Regions from separate parts of the Homo sapiens genome. Here region 1 is linked to region 2. Evidence: promoter capture Hi-C in 16 types of primary human blood cells and fetal thymus (Javierre and others, 2016). All regions are on one chromosome and are shown on one strand. The core of a region is centred on a gene start or on the middle of the fragment in contact, and the rest is flanking DNA. Distances in the headings are between cores, read along the strand shown. Region 1 overlaps DOCK3 (dedicator of cytokinesis 3). Region 2 holds the start of CACNA2D2 (calcium voltage-gated channel auxiliary subunit alpha2delta 2).

Region 1 (4,747 bases), core at 1,456-3,955, 870 kb after region 2:
TCTGTTTTATCAGAGACGAGGATTGCAATCCCTGCTTTTTTTTTGTTTTCCATTTGCTTGGTAGATCTTCCTCCATCCCTTTCTTTTGAGCCTATGTGTGTTTCTGCATTTGAGATGGGTCTCCTGAATACAGCACACTGATGGGTCTTGACTCTTTATCCAATTTGCCAGTCTGTGTCTTTTAACTGGAGCAGTTAGCCCATTTACATTTAAGGTTAATATTGTTATGTGTGAATTTGATCCTGTCATTATGATGTTAGCTGGTTATTTTGCTCGTTAGTTGATGCAGTTTCTTTGTAGCGTTGATGGTGTTTACAATTTGGCATGTTTTTGCAGTGGCTGGTACCGGTTGTTCCTTTCCATGTTTAGTGCTTCCTTCAGGAGCTCTTGTAAGGTAGGCCTGGTGGTGACAAAATCTCTCAGCATTTGTTTGTCTGTAAAGGATTTTATTTCTCCTTCACTTATGAAGCTTAGTTTGGCTGGATATGAAATTCTGGGTTAAAAATTCTTTTCTTTAAGAATGTTGAATATTGGCCCCCACTCTCTTCTGGCTTGTAGAGTTTCTGCTGAGAGATCTGCTGTTAGTCTGATGGGCTTCCCTTTGTGGGTAACCTGACCTTTCTCTCTGGTGGCCCTCAACATTTTTTCCTTCGTTTCAACTTTGGTGAATCTGACAATTATGTGTCTTGGAGTTGCTCTTCTTGAGGAATATCTTTGTGGTGTTCTCTGTATTTCCTGAATTTGAATGTTGGCCTGCCTCGGTAGGTTGGGGAAGTTCTCCTGGATAATATCCTGAAGAGTGTTTTCCAATTTGGTTCCATTCTCCCCATCATGAATAGGAACACAACGAGTCTGCAGCTCCCAGTGTGACTGACACAGAAGACAGGTGATTTCTGCATTTCCAACTGAGGTACTGGGTTCATTTCACAGGGGCTTGTCAGACACTGGGTGCAGCCCACGGAGCAGGGCGGGGCATTGCCTCACCCAGGAAATGCAAGGGGTCGGGGAGTTACCTTTCCTAGCAAAGGGAAGCCGTGACAGATGGTACCTGGAAAATCGGGACACTCCCACCCTAATACTGCGCTTTTCCAGTGGCCTTAGCAAAGGGCTCACCAGGAGATTATATCCTGCGCCTGACTCAGGGGATCCCACACCCATGGAGCCTCTCTCACTGCTAGCACAGCAGTCTGAGATTGAACTGCAAGGAGGCAGTGAGGCTGTGGGAGGGGCATCCGCCATTGCTGAGGCTTGAGTAGGTAAACAAAGCGGCTGGGAAGCTCGAACTGGGTGGAGCCCACTGCAGCTCAAGGAGGGCTGCCTGCCTCTGTAGCCTCCACCTCTGGGGGCAGGGCATAGCTGAACAAAAGGCAGCAGAAACTTCTGCAGACTTAAACGTCCCTGTCTGACAGCTTTGAAGAGAGTAGTGGTTCTCCCAGCATGGAGTTTAAGATCTGAGAACGGACAGACTGCCTCCTCAAGTGGGTCCCTGAACCCTCAGGAGCCTAACTGGGAGGCACCTCCCAGTAGGGGGCGACTGACACCTCATATGGCAGGGTGCCCCTCTGAGACAAAGCTTCCAGAGTGAAGGATCAGAAAGCAACATTTGCTGTTCTGCAGCGTCCACTGTTGATACCCAGGCAAACAGGGTCTGGAGTGGACCTCCATCAAACTCCAACAGACCTGCAGCTGAGGGTCCTGACTGTTAGAAGGAAAACTAACAAACAGAAAGGACATGCACACAAAAACCCCATCTGTACGTCACCATTATCAAAGACCAAAGGTAGATAAAACCACAAAGATGGGGAGAAACCAAAGCAGAAAAGCTGAAAATTCTAAAAATCAGAGCACTTCTCCTCCAAAGGAACGCAGCTCCTCGCCAGCAATGGAACAAAGCTGGATGGAGAATGACTTTGACAAGTTGAGAGAAGAAGGCTTCAGATGATCGGTAATGACAAACTTATCCGAGCTAAAGGAGGATGTTTGAACCCATTGCAAAGAAGCTAAAAACCTTGAAAAAAGAGTAGATGAATGGCTAACTAGAATAAACAGTGTAGAGAAGTCCTTAAATGACCTGATGGAGCTGAAAACCATGGCATGAGAGTGACGTGATGCATGCACAAGCTTCAGTAGCCGATTCGATCAACTGGAAGAAAGGGTATCAGTGATTGAAGATCAAATGAATGAAAATGAAGCGAAAAGAGAAGTTTAGAGAAAAAAGAGTAAAAAGAAATGAACAAAGCCCCCAAGAAATATGGGACTATGTGAAAATCTACGTCTGATTGGTGTAATAGCACAAATGTATGACTTGGGAAGTCATTAAGAAAAGAAGCTCTCTAAAGCACACAAACCCATGAAGCCCACAGTAGGAGTGATGGAGAGAAGCCCACAGTAGGAGTGATGGAGAGAAGCCCACAGTAGGAGTGACTGCTGTATGGCACAGTGAAAAGATGCAGTGACCACCTGGGAAAAGCCTTGGCAGATTGTAGAGGGAAGTGGAGTAAGGTTGCAGCAGGCACAGTCAGACTTCACCTGAAGTATTCAGACCAAGCCCTCATTTCCAGGGCAAGGGAATTAAGGCCACCTAGCCAGTTCACAGCCAAGCTAAGTTTGGGGCACAGATCTTTACACTCACCAGCCCTCACTCTCATGCCCATTCCACTGCCCATATTGCCTCCCTAGCATGGACTCTGAGGTCAGAAAAGGGGAGCCAGCATTTGAAAGCAGACATTTCTAGTACTAAATAGGACAAATGAACCAAAAGATCGGTGCATGCTGAAGATTTGTCAGTATGTGAAAGCTGCAGACATAGAGAAGGAGCAGTGATATGTGTTATCAAGAAGGCACACTGAAAGACGGCCTTGGGAATAAAAAGAAAAGAAACCCTGAGCCATGAGTGCCACAGTCAAGGTTGGCATTTATAGTGTCTTCAGGTAAATAGTCCTGAATAGAGCTGCAGAAACAGTTTCTGTAATCCCTTCTGGTTTTGTTTTTTTCCCTAACCTAAAGCGTCTCTAAGATATGTTCTGACATATCTAAGACTTTATCTGGTATTCTTGCTGAGGACAGATCTCTGAATCATGATGATTGATAAACACAGAAGGCAACCAAGGATGGACATTTGAACTCAAATGCACTCTGACATTGGTCAGACACTTCCTCTAGGCTGTTCCAGATACTTAGTGTCCTGAAAAGAAGAAAGAGGAGGAATAAGCAGGCCCTGCTCTTGGGGACCTCACAGGCTGGCGGTTACCACCTTTTCCTTCCAGCCGTTGACTGATTTATTCACTTATCAAGCTTTTACTGAATGCTCAGTGAGGAACCTGCATGGCTCTTGCCACGGGGGCAGGTGGTGCACTATGTCAGTGCTGAATAGAGAGAAATTATCTTCTTGTCTGGAAATAACTCATTTTTACTTCAAATGGCTTGGTTATCTGTTGCTGCATAATAAGCCACCCCCAAAACTTCTTAAAACAATCTATTATCATCTCTTATTCTGTGGGTTTACAGGGCTCACTGAGCAATTCTCACTTGGTGTCAGATGTCACTGGCTGGAATCATCTAAAAGCTCAGGTGGGCTAGATATTCGAGATGGCTCACATACATGGCTGGCAATTGATGCTGGTGGTCAGCTTGGGGTGCGACTGGGGCTGTCAACTTGAGCTCCTACATATGACCTTTCCATGTGACTTAGGCTTCTCACAGCATGGCAGCTGATTTTCCCCAGAGAAAGCATTCCAAGAGACCCAGGAAGAAGCCTCAAGGCTCGTTTTTACCCAGCCTTGGATGTCCCAGGAAGTCCCCACGTTTCTAGTCTCCTCAAGTCACTAATGTCAACCCAGATACCAGAAAGAGGAATGAGATTACACCTCATGTTGTAAGGAATGGTGTGTGTGTTTTGGGACAGAAGGTGTTGATGGTCACCATTTTTGGAGATGAGCTGTCACAATGGCCAAACTCCAGAATATCACACAGAGGAAGGCTGAGAGAAGCCCCTTCCCTTTTGGGGGTAAACATTAAGTGCAAAAATAAACAAAATGGTTAAACAGAACTGGGCCCAAAGAGAACAGTGACAAGATCAGAGGCAGTAAGAAAGAAAGCAAGTCCCTTCTAGACCACAACTTCCATACCATCCATGTGCAGGCTCATCTGGAGAAAGGTGCAGGTCCTACATCTATCAAGCACAGTGTTAGGCCCTGGGAGACAAAATAGAAGGGTCTGTGTGACATGGCATCATAGAGAAAGACTGATACTTTCAAATGTATGTAATAGATGTTGTAGTAGATACACTCTGGGCAAAGAAGGGAGGAAACAGTCCACTCTGTTTGAAGTTTGTGTTTGGTATTACCAGGGAGGGGAAAGCTTTCGTAAAGGTGATCTTGAGGGAAGCCTTTGCATTGGGGTTACTTCCCCCACTCCCAAGAGTGGTCATGAGACCAGTGGTCTTCCTTGCCATACCCATGGACACTGCTGTGATTCCTGTTGCTTTGGAAATGTCTGAGAGGAATGGCCTGCAAGGCCCCTCACACGGATCAGGATATTGAGTATGCAGATGTGGGGTTTTCTTTATGAGCCAGGCTGTGAGCTCCATGAGGTGAGAGACCACGGACAACCTGAGCAAGACAGTATACAAGGTTCCAATCACATGCTTGGTGTGGAATGGGCATTAGATATGGGTTTGATGTTACTGAGTTGGTCTAAAGGTGCTGTGTGTTTTTCGGTGCATACTGAACAGAGAGTAGTCCTGTCT
Region 2 (4,452 bases), core at 827-3,326:
TCACATCGGCCTTCTAGAGGAGACTCGTGCAGGCCCAGAAGCCATCTGACCAACTGCACGTTGCAGGGAAAGGGAGTGAGGTCGGGAGAGGTGGAAAGAGACATCCACTTAAACCTTCACTCAAGGAGCTATGAAACGGCTAAGAAAAAAATAATTGTGGCTTGGCTCGTGCTTGGCTTTGAGGAAGAAAGAACAACAAAAAAATAATGCTTTTGCTTTTTTTAAGCACTATGATTGAAGTCCATTTCCATCACGGCAAATGAAAGACAATAACGCATCCACCAGCCCTGAACTTCCATTCGATTCTTTTCTCCCTGGGCAACCCCCAAACACACATGTGAAAAATCCAGACGGTTGACAGAGGACACGTCCGTGCGGCACTTGTAATTTGCCAACTGATCACCTGCCTGAGCACAGCCAGGCTGTGCAATGAGAGAGACGACAAGACGGAGAGAGAGACCCAGAGAGGCGGTTTTCCTGAGTTTGTTTTTCCCTCATCTTAGAGAGCCTACGAACTGGAGTCGGCAGGTTTTGTGGCAGAACCAGGGGCTCTTACCCTTGGGCAGAGCTGGTTTAAATGACGCAGAGCCAGCCTCTCCCTTTCCCCGAGGCCAGACCCTTCCCCTTGGCCACCAGCAGCCCGACGACTCATGCCCCAGTCTCCAGGCCAGGACACTGGTGAAGGAGTCCAGGGACAGGTGGCTCCTCAGACCCGGAGACAGATAACAGAAGCAAGGTGGTCACCGTGCCCCAAAGGGGGTCTGGGCACTGACATAGGGCTGAAGCACAGTGTCAGGAAACTGATACGTCCTAAAGGCCACATGCACTGAACATCCACTCCCAGCCCCAGACACATCTGGCTAAGCTCACCCGTAGGAGGCAGCCCGAGTTTGCTGGCTCTTGGGGAGGAGGAGAAGGCTCAGAAGGACCAAAAAACCTGCGGAGGCTGGCAGAGCCAGGAGAAGCTATTACTCTGTTGGCAGCAGCAGCAGGCGCAGGCAGGGGTCCTTCCCACCATTCACCTTCTGCCCGGACCCCAACGCCTTCACCTCCCAACTGGGCTCTCCAGGGTACTCTCTCCTCAGGTGGAGGGGGGCCAAGAACAGGGGACACTGCCTCTGTGGCACTGGCCACAGCAAGAAGGTGCTCGCATCATCAGCATACAGCTCCCCACTAAAGGAAAAGGCCCTTGAAGGCAGGTGTGGAGATGTCCCTCACCTCTGGCTGTAAAGCGCCGGATTCCCACCAGGGAGGGAACGTGGGGCAGATGCGCGGCTCCAACTCCGCCGGACAGGGGTCGCTGGCCGCCCCTCTCACCCAACCCGGGTTTCCCTCTCACCGGGTCAGCGGCAGGGGAATCAGCTGACAAGCTCGGACCGCCCCCCCCCAACTCCTCCCGGGGCTTGAAGATCTTGCCTTGCCTCATTCGGGGGATTTGGGGGAAGCAGGGGCACCGCGGGGAAGTTTCGCGACGCAGCCAGAGCGCCGGGACCGCGGCTGCCAGCCTTCGGGGCTTGGGGCCGTCGCCCCCGGGCGCAGCGGGCAGCCGGACCCAGCGCCTCTGCCCTGGCGCGGAGCGCAGGGAAGGAGTAGCGCGGACCGGGGGCAGAGCGGGGCGCAAGGCTCGGCCGGGGTCTCGCGGCCGGCCGAGGCCACTTACGTGTGCTGCTGGGGGAAGCTGTAGGCAGAGGCGCCGGGGGCGGCGAGCAGCGGTAGAAGCGGCAGCAGCAGCCACAGCGGGCGCGGGGGCCCGGACGTCGGGCGCCGGGTGCCGGGGCCAGGGTGGGGGCCGCAGCCGGGCCAGGGGCGCGCAGTCCGCGCTGGGCCGGGCCGAGAGGCGCCGCAGGTCCGAGCCGGCACCGCCATGTTTCCATTCAAGATGCGGCGCCGCGGGGAGGGGGGGCAGTGGCGGCGGCGGCGGCGGCGGCGGGGTTGGGGGGGCGCGGGCGGCGGGCGGTAACTCGGCCTCTCCTCCGCCGCCGCCTTCTCCGCGAGGGGCCTCCGGGGCTGCACGGGCCGCAGCGCCTCTGCGGGCTGCGCGCTGCTATCTCCCTGCAGCGCTGGCTCCAAGCGCTCTGAGCGCCCGGCCCGGGACCTGCGCTCAAATAGCAGCCGCCGCCAACCTGCCGGCACCGCCCTCTTCTCTCCCTCCCTCCCTCTCTCTTCCCGGGCTGGCCCGCCCCCGCGCGCCCCCGCCGCGGCCACGCGCCCACCCGTGCCCGCGCGCCTCTCGTCCCCGCGCAGCCCGAATCCTGCCCTACTGGCTCGGGCGTCCTGCGCCCCAGCTGCTACCCGAGCGCCCCGGGTGCGCCCCCGCCCCCACACCTCAGACCCTGCCGCTCCTCCCCACCCCACCCGCGGGAAGAGTCCCGGGCCCCGCGGCCCAAGGCAGGAGCATATGTGACCCTTTTGGGGGCTCGACCTTCAACAGGCTTAAGGCCTAGAGTCACAGGTTTAATGGTGGAGTGACAGCTTCAGCGGAGACCAGAAAAGGAGGCATGCTGAACTTACAGCCCCCGTGGCTCTAGCTATCTTTAAGATTTCTCTCTGTCGGGGGCTTGCACGCCCGGCTGCTGGCAGAAAGGGCCTGGACCTCCTGGTTCCCTAAGCGGAAACCTGGGCACGGCTGTACGGTTGTGGGGGGCTGGGGACGGCAGGATGCAGCCCTCTGCAGCCACTCGCTTCGCTTCCCTGGGCTGAACAGGCACTGTGTGCAGGCCTGTCCCAAGCCCCAGTTCCCGGAGTTTGCACAGCCTCTGTTTAGATTCTTCCAGAGCCAGGAAGCTCATCTCTGCACAACCCAGTCCTTTCTGTCCTGGAGGCCCCTGGCTCTTCCCTGCTGTGGGCAGAAGACTGGGGCTGGTGTCAACCTTGACTCCACAGCTTGTGGCCCTTTCAGAGCCTCAGTGTCCTCGCTTGTGAATGCTTGTGTGGGTGCCCACTCCCATTTCCAGGATGAAGTGAGAATGGGGAGAATCTCTTGGTAAACTGAAGCATTCACAATGAGGGGAGACCATCCCTAGGATTCTACTGAAGTTACCCTGGAACCCAGCTCTGCCTCTGGTGCAGATAGGATGAGAGAATGCTCCCCACCAACTTGACACAGGGCAGGACCCCCTCAGCAATAACTGCCCACAGACCTGGCCTATCACGAGGAATGAGGGATAGTAACCAGCTGGGCAGGATGGTTCGGAAATGTCCAGATGCCCCACCTCATGGTATCAGTGGCTCTCCTATCACCCACTCACAAGTCAGCCCAAGGAGGGCTTGCAGTTGAAAGGGAATAGTAGCCCCTGGACTGAAAAGGGTAGGGGTAGGGGCTGGAAATAGGGCCTAGGACAGCCTTCCCTTGCTGCCTAGTCCTGCCTTGGCTTCTCCAATCCCAGCAAACCAGGGCTTGACAGGGAACAGTTTCCTTCATTTCTTGAAGTGTCCTCCTCCCTTGACCTGAATGAGCCTTCAGGGGCCAGACAGGTTTGCCAGCAGATCCCAAACCATGAGACCCCAAAAAAAGTATCAGAGGAAGGCAACGCAGGGGCCAGGGGCCTGGTGGACAGGTGGGACCTGATGGACTATGGGAGACGATAGTCCAGCTCTTTGGGGGGACAAGCAGGGTCCTCACTGAGCCAGTTGCCCCCCTGCCACCTCTGGACACAATGGGAGGGCAGGGGGGCAGGGGTCCTGCTCAGGAGTCGACAAGCGTGAGCTCAACAGCTGCCTTCCCAGCCCTGCCTGCTGAGACCTGTTCCCAGCATCTCTGTCTTCCTCATGCCCAAGGTAGGGCTGGCCTGTGATATCCTCTCTTACCTGTTTGCTGGACATATAATACCTGTGCCCATGGCCCCAGGGGACCATCATAAAGGACATCATTCCTCTTGGGTGCCCTGTCGGGGGTGGGCGCCTTCCCAAGGCAGACTCTGCAGTGGCCTGAGAAATGTGAGGGCCAGCCTCCCTGCCCTCCAACACCAGGGTAGCAACGCTATCCCCAAAGTGCCCAGGCCGTCAGGCACATGAAGTCAGTCTAGGTACAGTGGGTGGGTTTTGGCAGTTGGGTATTTCAGTTCTAGCCTCCACAGATGTGCATCTAATTGAGGCTGCTGGCACCAAGGGAAAGGCGGGAGATTTTGGTTGACAGGCCGTTAAAGGAAGACAAATAAGGAGGGGGGGGGTAATTAAGAGTAAACAAGTGGTAAGTGTTTACGAATTATAACTTTTGAGGCTTACAACATCCTCAGCCCTCTTGGTGGCTGGCTACAGCCACACGTTAAGATCTTGGGAGAAAAATTTGAGCCTTCCCAAGGAATAGGGGGACTTCCATGGCAGGCACATTGGTAAATGTGGGGCTGCCCACCTGGCCCAAGTTGCCTGTGCTGGAAGACGTAGGGTGGCAGGGGCAGGTGAAGCTACCCTGACAGGGGGCCTGGTAGGTGCCAGTTCTGCATGGGAGGTCAG

Evidence for each region. The method cuts DNA at HindIII sites, captures the fragments that hold promoters and counts their contacts. A CHiCAGO score of 5 or more calls a contact.
Region 1: a contact is called between a fragment that was not itself captured here and the fragment with the promoter of CACNA2D2 in region 2, in 1 of 17 cell types (total B cells). The highest score is 5.2, in total B cells.

What each region holds. Positions count from the first base shown.
Region 1 is chr3:51,367,283-51,372,029 of GRCh38, forward strand. All of the region lies in intron 49 of DOCK3 (dedicator of cytokinesis 3), which reads left to right. Among named protein-coding and RNA genes, the nearest start is that of MANF, 16 kb to the right of the region's middle. The HindIII fragment of the contact is 1,173 bases long and covers 2,120-3,292 here.
Region 2 is chr3:50,501,558-50,506,009 of GRCh38, forward strand. It overlaps CACNA2D2 (calcium voltage-gated channel auxiliary subunit alpha2delta 2), which reads right to left and starts at 2,077. Exons shown (of 38, transcript NM_006030.4): 1 at 1,661-2,077. The coding sequence starts at 1,866. RefSeq lists enhancers at 2,188-2,696, 2,697-3,205. The HindIII fragment of the contact is 14,978 bases long and covers 1-4,452 here.